Regions from separate parts of the Homo sapiens genome. Here all the other regions are linked to region 2. The links are contacts of gene promoters, found by promoter capture Hi-C in blood cells and fetal thymus (Javierre and others, 2016). All regions are on one chromosome and are shown on one strand. The core of a region is centred on a gene start or on the middle of the fragment in contact, and the rest is flanking DNA. Distances in the headings are between cores, read along the strand shown.

Region 1 (2,700 bases), core at 4-2,503, 1.2 Mb before region 2:
TGTTGAAAAAATCTGTAATGTAGCTCTTAGAGATTTTATCCGATAGCACACAGCAGGATGAAGTTCAGGTTCGTAACTACACAAAATAAGCCACAATTAATATAAATATTTATACCCTGACTAGTAATTTCAAATTTGGTAATTTCTCAAGATAAATTGCTTCAAAGACTTACCTGGCATGAGGTCTATTGTTCTTTGTGAATTCTGGCAAACGGATTTCAAATGGCATGTTACACACTGCCAGAACGTTAACAACCTTAAAATCTGTAAATATTACCTTTAGGAGAGAAGTAAAATTCAATAAATTTATTTTGAAACAAACAAACAAAAAATCTGCTCATAATGGCAATCCTTAAAAACAAGAGCAAACAAGATAAAACAAAAACATTTTAAGTGTATGTTTAGTACTGTAAGTTGTGTAGCATGGAAAGCTTTAATTCAGTTTTTTAAAAAGCTCAAAAACTCCATTAAAAAAATTAAAAACTGAGGTATTTGCATGATCAAAACAGTATGGGTCTTTCTAATCATATGTTTAATTTTTTAATACTTTAAGTGAAATATTTAAAACTACTGAGAAAGGAGAGAGAATAGTGAGGGAAAAAAAATTTAAGTCCAGGTCATCCTGCTAGAGTAAAAATGGAAAAGATGTCACTTTAAAGTCAGTAAATACAGAGTGTACACTGGGCTCCAAAAGTCAGATGTTTTTCTCATATGCAATAAGGCAAAATGACATTTCTGTGAGATTAGCTAGATGTTTATTTTCTTTCTGGGGATAGAGTGATAAATTTGTTTCTAACTAATTGGGATTTCTCTCAACACTTCTAATGTTACACTAAGAAAAGAAGTTCCAAGGCTGAAAATAATGCTGTTAACATTAATAACTTTGGCCACTCCAACCAACATCTTCGTTTCATCTCATTATCTTTTCAAACATTCCTCCTAAAACCACAATTTTGGGTGAGCGAACTATCCTTCAACTCAGCCTTGCACACAGCAGTTGCGCAAAGCCAGGAAACCGCAAAGTGGCAGCACTCTCAAATCACAGTACAACTCAAGCCTCTCTCTACTGCCACCCTTCTCAAGCACCAACCCCCACTCCCCACCAGCCGTTCAGTCTCTTCCTATCACCCTCTACTTCAGAGAGACTGAGTCATCAGAGGGAAAGGTAACTTCCTATCCCCACTTCTACAAACTTGTCTCAATCCCAAACAGCCTTGCCCTCATCTTCAGGGACCATTCTCATCTTTATCTTTCATTTATTCATCATTTGCAAGTGACCTAGCAAGTCCATAATATGTAATCGTTTTATTCAAAGGTATACCTCTATCAAGTTATAGTGATGAGGCTGACATGCCAGTGACAGTCACGTTACAAGTGTGAGAGCCTGCCAGCTGGTGTGTCCATGTCAACGGCCTCTGCCATTCTCTATTCACCATTCTGACCTGGCATTCTTGAGATGACCAAAAACCATTTTGTTTGTGTACGTCAGAGGTGAAAACACTTAAAAAAGAGTTGAAAAGGAAATTAACTTGTGAGGAAACAAGTCTCTTTATGGGAAAGGAATTAGGGAAAAAGCTAGGATCCTTTACAAATACCCACATAGCCAAATTTTGCTACTAATTTTCACACTGAAGGGCAGTATTAAAAAACCTAGAAAAAGTTTAATCATAAGAATAGTACGCATAGTGATTTCTTGAGTCTATTACAATTTTTAATTCTATAAAAATAAGTCCTTGAATATTTGTAGTTTAGATACTATTTGAAAACGTTACCTGAAAACCTAGTTTCTGCAGACTACGGGCTAAGCGTCTGGCACCAAATTTAGCTTCTTCTTCACTACGGTTTTAAGGAAAGAAAAAGATTATCAGTTACACAGGAAATAAATGTTATACTGAGGAACATAACAAACTTTACATATGATTTTGCTGTTAAGTCTAGGAAAATGTCCTTTCCATGAGGGAAAAAGTAAAAAATAAAAACAAAAAACCCAAGTAGCATTTACCTTGTTGCTCCAGTGCAAATAATTTTTCCTGAGGACCAAATTGTAGCTGTAATTCTAGGTTTTCTAAGCTTCATTAATACTTTCTGGGGGGAAAAAAAATCTGATTACCTCATAAGCATTATTTTTCACATAAGGTTCTGTTCTATATAGTCATATTAATGTCCAAATACTACTCTCCAAGCTTATCCAAGACTGCAATAACTGCTCTCCAAATCTACCATTCTGAAATCAAGTACAATACCAAACACAAAGAACATATTAATCCAAAAAGACATTTGATTAATTAAAAATACAAGGTGTATAGAAATCTCTCACTCTATATACTTGAAATCAATGTACTCCAAGTATATAAACAATTCAACTCTCATTCCACCCCAGTCATATAACTGGAACTTGCATGGTTCTTCACACACACCAAATCTGTTCATGCTTCAGAAGCTTTGCAGTAGCTGTTGCTTTCATTTGGAATATTATCCCCTCAATATTCTCACTTCATTCAGGTCTCTTACCAGATGTCACCTCCTGAAGAGAGGCCCTCCCTAATCATTTCCCTGAAACACCCATCCCTTCATTGCTTTCTAATTCCTAATTCTGCTTTCTGCTGCTTCATGGTACCCATCACTACTTTATATTGCATCCTAGAGTTGAGATGCTTATTACATACTCAAGTTCAACATCGGCATCTTGAATAAAGGAGA
Region 2 (2,700 bases), core at 134-2,633:
CTTCCAATATGTTTGTATACAACCGATTGCATTATAGTAGATTATTAATTAGTGTGAATTTCATCTGCTAGAAGGTGTGCTACTTGAGGGCAGAGTCTGGATGGGGCTCATTCCTCTTTAAATTCATAATGCCTGGCACAAAGTGGTAACTCAGTCTTTTGTTTTGCTTTGGCTTCAAAACAAGAATTTCCCAGTCCTTAAACTTTATTTATTTATTTGAGACAGAGTTTCGCTTTTTCACCCAGGCTGGAATGAGGTGGCACAGTAATTACAAACTTACTATCAGCCATACTGTGTACTGGAACTGACCTTGTACAGTGGATCTGAGGCAGATTCTCAGTCGATAAAGCTACCCTCACACAATTCTTTTGGATCTTGGCTCACTGTAACCTCCGCCTCCCAGGTTCAAACGATTCTCCTGCCTCAGCCTCCCTAGTAGCTGGGATTACAGGTGCCTGCCACCACGCCTGGCTGATTTTTTTGTATTTTTATAGTAGAGACAGGGTTTCACCATGTTGGCCGGGCTGGTCTAGAACTCCTGACCTCAGGTGAGCTGCCCACCTCGGCCTCCCAAACTGCTGGGATTACAGGCATGAGCCACCGTGTCCAGCCAGTCCTCGAGCTTTAACACTTCCCAAATAGTAAATACGGTGAAAATAAGTGAAACCTATTTTTTATGCAAGAAAACTGTGAGTGTGAGAGTAAGGTAGCAGCCATCATGTTCATGTGCTAACTACTAACACACTTTATCGCCAATGCTCACAGCCGCCCTACGAGATAAACATTATAATCTCAGTTGTACAGGTAGAGAAACTGACCTTGTCATCCAAAGTTACACACTGCCAGCAAGTGCCCTGGCTTGAATCCCTGGCACCTGCCTCCAGAGGTCGCACTCCTAGCCACTTCGCCATGCTTCCTCGATATTCATTAGTATTCTTGCAAATATTTTTCGACTCCAGGTGCTTCACATAGGTTAATTCATTTCCGGTTCAATAGTGTCTGGCTTCAGTAATTACGAACACTACCGCATTTACCCACTGTGAAAAATAATTCACTCTTTCAAAGTTCCTGTATAACCTAATTTTCTAATTCACTTTTGTGTCTTTCAGTTGAGGTACTCCCTGCCTTTTCTGTGTCTACATAAGCTTCCTTTCTTTCGTTTCGTAGGAATAAATTGAACTTATTTTAAGATTGAGGGGGGTACAGCTGTATGGAATATAGACTCATCTTTTTTCACTCTCTGTCACAGAATGAAAAAGGACACCATGATATAGCAGCTGAGGTGGTGGATTAAGATAATGAGGCGGGGGGGGGGCGCAAAACAAAAAAAAAAGGAGCCTTGCTCCACCCCTGCCCCGCCCCCGGCCTCCTCCCGGGGACCCAGAGTCCTGGAAGGCTTTGGGGAGCTCCGGGCCGGGCGGATCGCTGCCTGCAGGGAGTCGGGGATGCCAGGTTCCAGCTGAGCAGCGGCCGCCCGCCAGAGTGCCAGTGGCTCCTTGGAGGTCGAGTCCAAGGACGTGGCTTGAAGCCGGGAGCTGGGGCGCCGGAGTCCACGCACCGGGGATGGAGGCGCTGGGTGACCTGGAGGGACCACGCGCACCAGGAGGTGACCATGAATTGCGTGGCCGGGAGCCCGGAGACCAGCGGCGGCTTCCGGCGTGTCTCTTTAGCAACGATTGAATTGCTTATAGCTTGATCTGTTTCCGAGAGATTGGAAAAGGCTGGGGCCTGATCGTGGGGTTCGGGCCAGCGTTTCTTTTCTCTCTGGACGGGGTAAAGTTCCAGGATTGGATATGTGTCACGGTTTCTAATGACTTTCTAACCTATACCTCTGCTTTTTAAGTACTGTGTGTTTAATGCATTCAAATAAGTATGCCATTAGGCAAATGTAAAACGTTACCTTTCAAGTACCCATTGTTGTTGCCTTTCTTTTTAACTTTCATTTCCCTTTCTCATCTACTACAAACATTTTACAAAGATTCGTAAGACTTCCTCATGTTGCACTGATTTTTTTTTTCCTTCTGGACTGCAATGGCAACCTCTGACAAATAGAGCAAAGCAAATGTATTTCTCTTAAGTTTTTCCTAAAAACAATTTAATTTATAAATGGCTGATGGATTTGCTTGGATATTTGGAACTCAGTAATTGATTTCGTGTTTTTAAATGACAATTTAGCCCTGGAAATAAGTGTTAAATTAACTGATGTAAAAGACCAGTAATTAGGGTAAAAAAAAAGTATTTATTTATGAATTTGTGGGACTTGTCTATCCAGAAGCATACCGCTGTAAATATTAATTCACCAGCTGAATGATTTAGCTTGTTTTCTCCTACTTACACTTCATTTGACTTCAATACTGCCTTAGAAATCTTTGTTTTTTGTTTTTGTTTTTGTTTTTGTTTGTTTGTTTTGTTTTGCTTTTTTGAGACGGAGTCTCTCTCTGTAGCCCAGGCTGGAGTGCAGTGGTGCGATCTTGGCTCACTGCAAGCTCCGCCTCCCGGGTTCACGCCATTCTCCTGCCTCAGCCTCCCGAGTAGCTGGGATACAGGGGCCCGCCACCACGCCCGGCTAATTTTTTGTATTTTTAGTAGAGACGGGGTTTCACCGTGTTAGCCAGGATGGTCTCGATCTCCTGACCTCGTGATCCGCCTGCCTCGGCCTCCCAAAGTTCTGGGATTACAGGCGTGAGCCACCGTGCCCAG
Region 3 (2,700 bases), core at 104-2,603, 1.1 Mb before region 2:
GGAAAAAATCTAAAATCCTTTTTAAAAGCAAATACTGAACAGAGAATAAGATACTGTAAGACCAAAATTAGGAACGAAAAAGAACCAAGAGAGATAAATAAGCAGTAGAAGGTGTTTATGCTTTGTAGGGGTAATGACAACTTGAACTTTCGTTTTGATGTCCCCACTGAGTGAAAGGTATGGCAATTGCCCAGGGATTGCACAAAGCAGGAAGCTGAACAGGAAGGAGATCCTCCTGACAGTGAGGTAGGAAATGAAAGGGCTGTGTCCTTAGGGCAAGAATATACCTGAAATAAACAAATCCTCTTTTGGTTGTTTCCATCATGGTGACGGTCCCGGGAATTTCAAGCTTTGAACTTAGATTAAGGTAGTCTCAGACTGATGGTGTCCTTAGGTGCCTAGCAGAAACAAAGATATCTCTCTATAGGAAGGTGGATTCCTGTTAGGCTAGGATAGTTCCCACAAATACATTTTAAAGTACTATTACCAGAACATGTGTAGTCAAGTTTAAACAGACACATGAGGAAAGAAGACAACATAAGCAAGAACAAACAGAAATAACAAAGGCCATAGAACCACAAATACTTAATATTTGGATTTAGCAGGTTATAAAACAGGTAATAAAACTATAGTTATTATTTAATGAAATAAAAGATAAATTTGAAATATCTTCGGGAAAAATTACGTTGCAGATATTTAAAAAAGGACCAAAGAATAAAATAAATTTATATGGTTCAGAAATTCTCCACTGTTTTAGTCTTCTGGTGGCACTCCATACTGGTTTTTAGTGCTGCTACGAATTAATTTTTTTTTCTTTGAGACGGAGTCTCACTCTGTCACCAGGCTGGAGTGCAATAGCACAATCTTGGCTCACTGCAACCTCCACCTCCTGGGTTCAAGCGATTCTCCTGCCTCAGTCTCCCAAGTAACTGGGATTACAGGCATGCGCAACCACACCTGGCTAATTTTTTTTTTTTTTTTTGTATTTTTAGTAGAGATGAGGTTTCACCATGTTGGCTAGGCTGGTCTCAAACTCCTGACCTCAGGTGATCCACCCACCTCAGCCCCCCAAAGTGCTGGGACTCTAGGTGTAAGCCACCATGCCTGGCCTGAATTAATTTTTATGTTTATGTTTTTACATAATTTTTATTTTTACATTTCTTCAATTTAATTGCATTTTGAAAGGGCAAGGAGGTAAATATGCATTTTAGGCCACCTTGAAAGCCAGTTGATGACTTTAACGGCAGACTAAATACAGTTGAAAAGAGAATTGGTGAACTAGGAGCTAGGTCAGAAAAACAATAATTTAAAAGTGAAACAGAGAGACAAAAAGAAAACACAGAATAAGAATTAAAAGAAATAAACAACAGAGGAGAATAGATTAATATACATCTCATCAGAATCTAGGAAGGAGAGGAGAGAGAAATGGGGCAAAGGTAATATCTGAAGAGATAATGGCTGAGAATTTTACGGAAGTGATGAAAGACACTAATGTACATGAAAGACACTAATGTACAGGTTAAGACAACCCAGTGAGTCTCAAGCAAAATAAACAAGAAGAAACCTATATCTAAAATTGTCATAATGAAACAGCTGAAGAGCAAAGCTAAAAAAAATAGAAAAAGAAAAGAAAATAGTGAAAACAATCAGAGAAAAGTGATGAATTGCTTTCAAAGGAGTAAATATGAAACTGACATGACTGCTCAGCAGCAGCAAGAGACATCAGAAGACAATGGAGGGGGATCTTCCACTTACTGAGAGAAAATTACTATCTAGTCTTAATGTCTAGTGAAAAATATTTTAATAGTGAGGCTGAAATAAAGACATTTTCAGGCTAATGAAGACTAGTAGTTTTTCCTAAGCAGAATCATACTAAAGAAAGTTATAAAAAAAGTGCGTTAGGCAGATAAAAAAAATGTAAGCTATAAAAAGGTATAAAGAACAAAGAAAGTGGTGAATAAATAAGTTAATATACACTGAAAGAGTAAAAGAACAACAATATAGCATCTAAAAAATAGAAAAAAATGCAATTACAAGTATCACATATGTTGAAGAGGGTCAAATGGAATCAAATATCCTAAGCAGCTTGTATGAAGGGTAAAGGTTAAGTATGCATGTTGTAATTCTAGGATAATTACTAAAAGAATAGAAACAAATTACACAATCTCCCAGCAGTAAAGGGAAAAAATTGGATGATAAGAAACAATTTGTTGAAAGAAGCAAGAAAAAAGAGAAAAGTATATACTGAATAGGTAGAACAAATAGCACACCATAAGATGGTAAATTAAAACCCAAATATGTAGACAATTACATTAAATGTATATGAACTAAATACTCCAGTTAAAAGTCAAGCTTATCAAGCTTGACTGATTAAGAAAAACAAAACAGGACAGGCACAGTGGCTCAGGCCTGTAATCCTAGCACTTTGGGAGGCTGAGGTGGGTGGATCACTTGAGGTCAGGAGTTCAAGACCAGCTTGGCCAACATGGTGAAACCACATCTGTACTAGAAATACAAAAATTAGCAGAGCTTGATGGCGCATATCTGTAATCCCAGCTACCTGGGAGGCTGAGGCAGCAGAATCACTTGAACCTGGGAGGTGGACGTTGCAGTGAACCCAGGTTGCAGTGGAGCCACAGCACTCCAGCTTGGGTGACAGAGTGAGATTCCATTTCAAAAAAAGAAAAAGAAAAACAAAAC
Region 4 (2,700 bases), core at 28-2,527, 1.3 Mb before region 2:
TTTTCAATAAACGCATACCAAGCACTAAGATATTAGGGCTATAGGGTTGATGAAAACTGTCAAAGTCCTGCCTTGAAGGAACTTACATTCTAAGAGGCTTATAATAAAAGCTCATGTTTATTAACTGTAAGACATACTTACTGTTATAGTGACATTATACTGACTACTGTAAGCAATACTCTTATTTAATCTTCATAATAAATGCATGAGTTTGGGGCTGGGTGTGGTGGCTCACGCCTGTAATCCCAGCACTTTGGGAGGCCGAGGCCAGCAGATCACCTGAGGCCAGGAGTTAGAGACCAGCCTGCGCAACATGGCAAAACCCTGTCTCTACTAAAAAATACAAAAATTACCCGGGCATGGTGGCATGTGCCTGTAGTCCCAGCTACTCAGGAGGCTGAGACAGGAGAATTGCTTGAACCCAGGAGGCAGAGGTTGCAGTGAGCTGAGATTGTACCACTGCACTCCAGCCTGGGAGATAGAGCGAGACTCCATCTCAAAACAAAAAAAAAAAAAAAAAAGAAAAAAAAGCATATGAGTTTGGTTCTAATTTACATCAAATGAATAAATATCAAGTAACTTGATATCTTATAGCATGATAGTTTTACCTTGGAAATGGGTGTAAAATTTATTTTTTGGTTGCCAAAAAATGCCATTTGGATAATAAGGGATTGTCTATGGTTTAGATGAAACTGATTTGATCCATCAAAAAGATTTACTGAACAATTACTATGTGTCTAGTACTCTGCTATAAATTAGGTAAGAAATGGAAAATTATTCCCTTCCTATAAGCCACATATATTCTAGTTACATAGCTGTATTCATTTTTATTCCATTATTTAAGATGGCAACCCGTGAGGAGTCTCTGACCCATCCTCTTCCTACTTCTTATTAAAATTCTTGGGAAAAGAGTATCCAACAGAGCCAGTTACACAGGAGGGTTGACAAGTGGCAGGCATGGGAGCAATGGTGCATGGACTCAGGGTTTCAATCTGAGACCTCCTATTGAAAAAAAATAAATAAATAAAAAATAAAATTCTGAGGAAAAGAGAAATATATAAAAACTTGCAGCACTGAAAATCAAGACTGGTAATATTCTAGACCCTAAGAGAAATGTTTCTTAACTCTCAGGAATGGCCTGGGTTGAAATGCCCAGCCTGTGCTGTGACACAGGAAACTGAACAGCCTTAATACCTCCCAAACCGTCTACCCCTGCTCCAGAAATGCAAGGACTGGACTGGAAGGAAAAATGAAAACAAAAAAACTCAGGCATCTCTTCCTCCCTGCTGTGACTGCAACTCCCAGAAGACAATTGAACTAGTAGAGAATGCATTGAATCTTGGGCTATGTAATCTCCTAAGTAAAGTACTCTAAGCAGAAAGTGCCAGCTCTGTAAGGAATCACTTTTCATATTCTCTTTGTGTTCAGTGTCAGAGAAATAGTAGAAGAGGTAAAATACAATCCCATTGGTTCCACAGAACAAAGCTAGATGTAAGCAATTGGTTAGCTGCTAGAATTTGGGCTAGGAGCTGAGTATACTAACCTATTAAACAGTTATAGACCTAAAGAGAACATTTAACCCGCATCCAATTGTCAGACAGTAAAACCAAAAACATCATCCACGCTCTGGCAAATTCCAGGTCTGTTAGGTAACCCCTCATGGGACTATGAATAGGCAAAGAAATAAGAAAACATAGTGTATCCATTAGCAGACGATGCATAGCAAGGCATAGGTTTTTCCCCAAGGCCTATCTCATGATCTTAGGGACATACAACAATAAATATTTATTCTTATAAATGTTTGAGTCAGGTAGGGATTGGTTGATCTAGGCTGGCTTAGTTGAGTATATTTCTCCATAGAGGTGAATACTTTCTAACAGTAATCTGTGATACTACACATAAACAAAAAGCATGGGAGATTTTGAAAATGTATTACCGAACCAAAGAAGAGATTCCAGATATTGGAACCCCCCCGCCCCCACCAAAAGCAAGCAAACAAACAAAACCCTCTAAAAAAATATATAAAAATGATTATAGAATCCAGAAGAAAAATTGAGAGGTTAAAAAAATGCTTTGAAATTTTCGAGAGGATTCAAAATGATATTCCTATGTAAAATAAGACCAGCAAGTTATAAGACAAAAGACTGAACAGATTTCAAAAGTGCACTAAGACAATGAAAGTAGAAAGATTATGAAATATTTTAAATGAATTTCAAAATGCAGAAATCAAATTAAAAATCCACATTTGAAGCAATAAAGAGCAGACTTGAAATTGGATAAAAATCAGTTATGATGTATAAAAGCCTTTTCATAATGAAGAGAAGATATTAGAGAATAGACATCTGTGATATGAAGTTAAGAGTTCCCCAAGAAAAACTCAAGCAGTTGAAACAGCAAAAACTATACACATTATTGAGGAAAAAAGTTATCTGAGTTGTGTCAATGCCCTCTAGCCAAAGGCTACCGGGAGCACACTGGTAACTAAACAAGGGTGGTTTTATTGACTTTTCATAACAAAGGAGAAGTGAAATACCATACCATGCTGTGTATGGGGAACTGTGGGGCATGTCAGTAGAGGGTGTGAGAGGACTTACATGATTTTGGCTTGTGTTAGGTGATTCTGGGGAGAGTTCAAACAAGTAAGATTTTTCCCCAAGGTTGGTCTCATGATTGGGTATGTATTAGTTTCTCAGGGCTGCT

Evidence for each region. Contacts are between HindIII fragments. The CHiCAGO score rates a contact against its expected background, and 5 or more counts as called.
Region 1: a fragment that was not itself captured here is called in contact with the fragment with the promoter of SLC18B1 in region 2 in 4 of 17 cell types (activated CD4 T cells, M0 macrophages, naive CD8 T cells and 1 more); the score reaches 7.5 in activated CD4 T cells.
Region 3: a contact is called between a fragment that was not itself captured here and the fragment with the promoter of SLC18B1 in region 2, in 2 of 17 cell types (naive CD4 T cells and total CD4 T cells). The highest score is 6.6, in naive CD4 T cells.
Region 4: a contact is called between a fragment that was not itself captured here and the fragment with the promoter of SLC18B1 in region 2, in 1 of 17 cell types (naive CD8 T cells). The highest score is 7.3, in naive CD8 T cells.

What each region holds. Positions count from the first base shown.
Region 1 is chr6:133,981,953-133,984,652 of GRCh38, reverse strand. It overlaps TBPL1 (TATA-box binding protein like 1), which reads right to left. Exons shown (of 7, transcript NM_004865.4): 3 at 2,003-2,085; 4 at 1,773-1,836; 5 at 174-277; 6 at 1-76. Among named protein-coding and RNA genes, the nearest start is that of TBPL1, 30 kb to the right of the region's middle. RefSeq lists an enhancer at 1,019-1,188. The HindIII fragment of the contact is 1,639 bases long and covers 434-2,072 here.
Region 2 is chr6:132,797,320-132,800,019 of GRCh38, reverse strand. SLC18B1 (solute carrier family 18 member B1) reads left to right here and starts at 1,383. Exons shown (of 14, transcript NM_052831.3): 1 at 1,383-1,606. The coding sequence starts at 1,564. RefSeq lists a silencer at 1,316-1,365 and an enhancer at 2,597-2,700. The HindIII fragment of the contact is 1,643 bases long and covers 1,148-2,700 here.
Region 3 is chr6:133,937,529-133,940,228 of GRCh38, reverse strand. No RefSeq gene overlaps it. Among named protein-coding and RNA genes, the nearest start is that of TBPL1, 14 kb to the left of the region's middle. The HindIII fragment of the contact is 2,003 bases long and covers 352-2,354 here.
Region 4 is chr6:134,093,218-134,095,917 of GRCh38, reverse strand. The region is part of intron 2 of LOC124901404 (a long non-coding RNA gene); the gene reads right to left. Among named protein-coding and RNA genes, the nearest start is that of SLC2A12, 42 kb to the right of the region's middle. RefSeq lists a silencer at 2,467-2,536. The HindIII fragment of the contact is 6,249 bases long and covers 1-2,700 here.